Linked DNA regions of Homo sapiens: region 2 is linked to region 1. The links are contacts of gene promoters, found by promoter capture Hi-C in blood cells and fetal thymus (Javierre and others, 2016). All regions are on one chromosome and are shown on one strand. The core of a region is centred on a gene start or on the middle of the fragment in contact, and the rest is flanking DNA. Distances in the headings are between cores, read along the strand shown.

Region 1 (3,480 bases), core at 205-2,704:
CCTTTAAGCCCAGACGTCATCAGTCTACACTTCTTTCCATATGTACATCACTCTTTGGATCACAGTTATCTCACAACTCTGGCTCTCCACCATCACTTTCCTGGCTCACTAAATGCACTACCACTGTGAAATGAATATTCTCTTTTAACTCCCAATCTACATAATCATCTTTAAGCCATTTCAGGATGATTCCCGCCCCCTTGCTCTTGGTTCCCACCAGACATGACAGAGACCTGCAATTTCTTGAAAACTCCCTTCTCAGTCTCACCTCTAAGTATTTTGCACAGGCTGGTTCCTGTGCCTGGAACAACCTTCCAACCTTATTCCAATGGTTGGCAGAAATGGAAACCCCTCCATAAAACCCCTGGCCCGGAGTCAGGACCCTGGGCTTGGGGCTTCTCCAGAGTCCTCAGACCCAAGAGATCGGAGAGTAGCAGGAGAGTGTTCTATATAACACCACAATGCTGGAGAGCGTATTGGGTGGGGGTGGGATCGGTGAGAGCATGGACATTCTCCCCTCACCTGTATAGGGTCCACAATTACTTCTGAGTTCATGGGAACCTGTGGGGAAGAGGGAGACTATGCGAGTCAAGCAATCTTGAAGGAACCCCAAAGGCTCAACCCCATCCCATATTCCTACCCAGTTACAATGTGCCTGGGAGCTGAATGTCTACCCTCTGTGCTTCCATCTTCAAGGATACCTCTTAACTGTGTTAGCTCGGAACAGTGCTCATTATCCGCCCCCATGGCCAACAAGAGTCTGCCCTCCATGAGCAGTCTATGGAATACTTTTTAAACCCTCGGATTCTGGCTCTCCTCTGTTCAGAACCTTCCATGGCTCCCATCACCCTCAGAATAGAGACCCAGCTGCTCAGGATGATATTCCAGGTGCAATCACTTATAAAGCGCTCTGATCCTTTCAGACACTAAAGGCCCAGTTTTCCCAAATGCTCCAGCTGTGAACCATCTCTGAGCCTTTGCATACACTGGTCTCTCTGCCTGGAACGTCCTTCAACTCGTGCTGTCAAAATGGGTCCCAAACACGAGCGCCCCCACTGTTCTAGATACAGGGGCCTGAGCTGCAGTAACCCGAGGAATCGTTCATTCGAAGCTTTGGGATTCAGAGATGGGGGTCAGCGCGCAGACTCGCAGACGCAGCACCCACCTGTGCCGGGCCCATCGGCTCAGCCGCCGCCATCAGGCCTGTGGACTACGGAAGGGTGGCGACAAGTGCAGGAACCTGGGATCAGCTGTCCAGGGCCCAGCCCAGCGGCTAGGTCACTCAGGCAGCGCCACTGTCAAGCCTCAGGCCCACCTCTCTTCAGGGAAGAAGACACTCTCTCACGTTTTCCCTTTTCTGTCACCTCAGGTCTGACATTGCGTTCTGGAAACTAAACCAGTGGATTAATGGAAAAGCAAACAAAATGTCCACCCGAGGATGGTAGAGGAAGTCCCGCCCTGACGTTGGTGAGGACCAACGGAAACGCCTATTTCCTGGGTTTTCATTGGCCCAGAGCCGCCAAGTTTCCTGGGTAATGTAGTTCCCACGGCACCAACACTAGTAAGCGGCGTCTCGCTTCACCTCCAGGTTAAAAGCCCAGAGAAGACCGCCAGGGGCGCGTGGAAATGGTGTCCCTCGTCTCCAAGGCCCAGACGGAGCTTAGCTTCCTCTTGAAGGAGCCATATCTGTATTTCTGGTGAACGTCGTGTTTGACATCAAAGGAATGTTTAGAGACATGATTTCAGCCTTCCTTACGCAGAGAATGCTCATCAAAAAATAAAATGGACACACCATACACTGACGTCACTCAGATTTCTATGGCTGGAAGTTAACAAATATTGTTTTCAAATGCGTGTAGCCTGATGCTCCAGAGTTAGTTTGGCGAGCCTCAGCATTTTCTGTCAGGCACAAGAAAGAAAAGACTCCAGACACCATGATGTGGAACGTGGAGTGGGGATGTTTGGTGGCCTTGAAGTAAGTGAATAACCCTTCTGTCTGTTACCTCAGAAAATATTTATCCTGCTTATACAGCAGTGATTGTGTCAAACCCAACAAGTAATACTCTTGTTCAAGATAGTATTTCATACTCCATATACAGAGATGTATTCAATATTTTAAGTGTTTTACAAGTGTCTGAAAAGACAGAATTCATCAAATGTCATATGGCAATGAAAAGGGCAACATGAACACTTTCTGTAAAGAAGAAATAACCACCAAACTAGATGTCTATACACAACAAAATGTCTTTTATGGAAGTGTGATATAAAACTATTTGAAACCAAAAATGATAAATGTAATGGAAATACATTTACACAAAAAATAATGTTTAAAATAATACTCAAGGCCAAAGAAAGTTGATCTCAGGTGAAAAGTCTGCAATGAGAGAAGAAATGAAGATGAAAAGAAGTGCATCTTTTGATTAAAATAACAGCATATTACAGTGTAAAACATAAGTAGATATACTTATTGAGTTAGAATGATGGAATTCCCGTGCGTAACCTCAACTACATATAAATTGAAAGGAGGCTAGTTGCTCAAAGTTTTAAATTTTTTATATTTCCAAGTGGAAAGCAAATGTATTACAATCCTGTATGGCACGCTAATGTGTTAAACGTTTGTAATTTTTAGCCTAAATATAATAAATACAGTCAGCGTATATACTTTTCAAACTAGAAGAGGAAATGTTTGGAATATAAATAAATAATCAATAGAAAGGTAAAATAATAGTAAAATAAGTGGAAGAAGTGAGGCAAAGAAAAGCACAATGTAGGATATATTTAAACTGTCAACCTAAATAACAGAGATTCTTCAAAGATGTTGAGTTCATTCAGGAATGCACAGGGGATTTGCAAATCCAGGACATGCAGGCTATAGGGACTATAGGCATATCCAGAGAGCTTGAAACAAGGAGAAGCTTTCAAAGGCAAAAGGGAAAAGTATATATAATTTGTTTTGAGATAAAAAGAACATTGGTCACAGATGTTTATGGCAGAGGTTAACACCAGTTCATTAGTGGAGACAATCTGTCAGGCAAGTGTTCTACTACATCTAGAGCTGTCCTTGTAACTCCTGTAGCAAGCTGCGGTTTGAGAAGTTCTTGTCAAAACTTCTTTTAACGGGAATATGTGCATTAAGAGCCCTCAGAGACAGTAATAGCTCTTATCTTAAGCATGTGTGTTTGAGTGCCCTCTTTTCTCAGCCTCCTGGCTTTATTTATTTATTTACTTATTTATTTATTTTACACAAGTTACTCATTTTGGTTTTGACAACTTTTGCAAAACCTAAATGACTATGCAATAAATACTCAAATAAGCAGTTAGTAATTTTTGATGGACCAAAACACGCTTCACGAGGTATTCTCTTTTCTTCAGTGAATTTCCACAGAATTTGAATTGTGATTGAAAGCACAACTAACATTCCCAGACTCCCTACTCTGTCAGTAAGAAAAGAATCATGTTGTAGTTAGAAACGTCCAAAAT
Region 2 (3,275 bases), core at 475-2,974, 720 kb after region 1:
ACATGGGCTTGGCTGAGAAGAAGCAAGTGGGGTGCAAACTATGTGTGCTTTCATGTTGCAAAGAAGCTGTGTTGAATCAACAAATATTACTTGAGCACTTGCCAGGATTCCAGGTACTGTTCCAGGGCTGGATCACAGTGATGAGTGGGGCAGGTCTTACACCTGCTTTCATTGGGCCTACATCCATTCCATGGCTGATTGGATCAACAAAAATGAAGTTGCCCATTCAGTACCTCAATTGCACTGGGCACCTTTCAACTGCTCATTGGCCCTGCAGCTAATGCTACTATGTTGGACAGTACAGATCTAGAACATCTCATTTATAGAAAGTTCCATTGGACAGCACTGCTCTAGATAGGGTGATAGACATGATAAATTAATGAATCAGATATTTGGGATGGTAATGAGTGTTGGAAAGAGAAGGAAACAATGGGATACATTGGTGGGGGACAAGCGAGGTACGGGTGGGCAGCAGTAGTTCAGAACTAAGTAGGAAGATGGTTCTGAGGAGGTGACGTTTGAGCTCAGACCTGAATGGGAAAGGCGAACCAGGTGAAGATGTTGGGGAAGGTGAACCAGGCGAAGATGTTGGGGAAGACTATACCAGGCAGGAGGGTGGTGCACATGTGGATCTCTGGATGAAAGGCCATATTCTAGGAAAACTAAGATGGTGGCTGTGGGAGACCCCTTTAGCGTCAAGGACATGAAATAACAGGGTTTGGAACCCGGCTCCTTTGTTGCCCACTATGTTAGGCCGTTCTTAAATTGCTGTAAATACCTGAGACTGGGTTATTTATGAAGATAAGAGATTTAATTGGCTCACAGTTCTGCAGGCTGTACAAGGGTGGCACTGGCATCTGGTTGGCTTCTGGGGAGGCCTCAGGGAGCTTTTTACTCATGGTGGAAGGCAGGGAGCAGGCACATCATGGGAAAAGCAGCAGCCAGAGAGAGGAAGAAGGTGCCGCATACTGTTGTTTGTTTGTTTTGTTTTTTTTTTTGGAGACACGGTCTCACTCTCACCTAGGCGGTAGTACAGTGGTGCGATCATGACCCACTGCAGCCTCGACTTCCTGAGTTCAAGCGATTCTCCCACCTCAGCTTCCTGAGTAGCCAGGACTACAGGCACATGCCGCTACGCCTGGCTAATTTTTTTTTTTTTTTTTTTTTGTGGAGATGGGGTTTTGCCATGTTGCCCAGGCCGGTCTAGAACTCCTGGGCTCAAGCGAACCACCTACCTCAGCCTCCCAAGGTGCTGGGATTACAGGCGTGAGCCATTCTGCCCGGCCACACTTTTTTAAACAACCAGATCTCGTGTGATTAACTTAACCACCAGGAGGATGGTGCTAAGCCATTCTTGAAGGTTCACCAGGCCCCACCTCCAACACAGCATCACTTTTCAACCTGAGATTTGGTAGGGACACAGAACCAAACCGGATCATCCACTCTGCAACCCTGGGCAGGGTTCCTAGCCTATCCCAGCATGAATTTCTTTTTTTTTTTTTTCTTTCTGAGATGGAGTCTTGCACTGTCGCCCAGGCTGGAGTGCAGTGGTGTGATCTTAGCTCACTGTAACCTCCACCTCCTGGGTTCAAGTGATTCTCCTGCCTCAGCCTCCCAGGTAGCTGGGACTACAGGTGCCCGCCACCTCGCCTAGCTAACTTTTGTGTTTTTAGTAGAGACGGGGTTTCACCATATTGGCCAGGCTGGTCTCAAACTCCTGACCTTGTGATCTGCCCACCTCGGCCTCCCAAAGTGCTGGGATTACAGGCATGAGTCACCGCACCAGGCATATTTCTTTTGTGTATGGTGTACATTTGCTTCCTGGGACTGTGGGCAGCCTTCGTGAAATGATGGTACTGTCATTGATTCAAAAACTGAGTAACGTAAAGATGATCAGCAGCCTTTGGCAGATCCTCTACTTAGGGGTGTGAGATCCACAAGTCCCAGTTGGCAGCCTCAGTGGTACACTGGAGGAGACAGATGCAGAAGGTAATCCAACAGGGAGCTTAGGGGCACTGAGGGAATGATGAGAGAGAACAGGAGAGCTGAGAGCTTTCCAGACAAGGAGGAAAAGTGATGGGGTACTGTGCCCAGGGATTAGGGGAGCTGAGGGTAAGTACTCTTCTGACTTTTCCCCCACAAGCTGCTAAAAAGATCATTGCTTTTCGTTATATTTTGGACTGGTATACCTGGCTAATCAGCATTCACTGGCAAACAGCACTGTGAGGAAGACAGCTGCCTAAGGCCTGTTTGTCACCCTGGAAGGGAAGCAGCAGAGAGGTAGAAGTATCCTGAGAGAAGAAAATAGTGTCAAGAGGGAGAAAGCAGCAGCTCCCATCAAGCCCTTACCACATGCTGTGCCTGGACTTTGGTATCTCATCACTTTGGGTGAAGAAACTCAGGCTCAAGAAGTTAATCTCTCTTGATTAAACCCCTTGCTTTGAGCCTCAGTGAATTTGTTTCACAACCCATTAGACAGACAGTTGTAGGTGAGGTGACTACATTGCTACGGGCTCATTCAGTTGCTGGACTGAAAGCCATTTGGAGCTCCAGCTGATAGGGATTATGCAGCTCCACATGAGTGGGTTGGGTCAGTCATGTCTGTGGAATGAGATGGGTGGAATGAGAATCCAGTTCCACCTCTGCCTGGTGGTGAACTTAAGAGCTTCCATTTTCTCCTCCATGAAGTGGAGCAGCTAATTTCCTGCAATAGACAGTGGTAAGGATTGCCCTAAAGGTCTTGGGATAGTCTATGGGTTGACATTTGGAGGACTGAGGTGCACAGAATGAGTCCATCACTTCCTCACCAGTTTCTGGGTTTGTGGTCTCTCTGTTCACTGTGGTGTCCTTGGTTCCACAGCATGCAAAAGGTGCTTTATGATAACTGTGTACAGAACAGAGTGTGGGGCCTCATGGGTTAATAATAAAGATTAAAGCAGAAGTAAGTACATTAGAAAGGGGTGGGGTGGAGTAGAAGAATCCAACAGTTGTTTTCCTAGGGGCCAAGGCATGAAAATCCCTCGATTAAGGAATACAAAAATGAAATTTTAGAAATTTATGAAGTAACGTTTAAGATGTTTAAGTGTCATGCATGGTTACCTAAAATAGTACTGGTGGCCCAGTGCTGGTCTGCCACTTAGCCCCCCCCCAGGAAGTACAGATTCAGTTGGTGCATGTCCCATGTCCTAGGCACTTAGTCCGGTGCTGCTGGGCCTCCAGTAAATCTTATCCCCAGCTGCTTCTCAGGAAAAATTCAAGCCTTAAGAGCTGTAATT

Evidence for each region. The method cuts DNA at HindIII sites, captures the fragments that hold promoters and counts their contacts. A CHiCAGO score of 5 or more calls a contact.
Region 2: a contact is called between a fragment that was not itself captured here and the fragment with the promoter of ZNF772 in region 1, in 1 of 17 cell types (fetal thymus). The highest score is 5.2, in fetal thymus.

What each region holds. Positions count from the first base shown.
Region 1 is chr19:57,476,112-57,479,591 of GRCh38, forward strand. It overlaps ZNF772 (zinc finger protein 772), which reads right to left and starts at 1,455. Exons shown (of 4, transcript NM_001144068.2): 1 at 1,166-1,455; 2 at 523-561. The coding sequence starts at 1,198. RefSeq lists enhancers at 656-1,179, 770-1,969. The HindIII fragment of the contact is 1,804 bases long and covers 1,110-2,913 here.
Region 2 is chr19:58,200,026-58,203,300 of GRCh38, forward strand. The region is part of intron 4 of ZNF274 (zinc finger protein 274); the gene reads left to right. Among named protein-coding and RNA genes, the nearest start is that of ZNF274, 19 kb to the left of the region's middle. The HindIII fragment of the contact is 4,047 bases long and covers 1-3,275 here.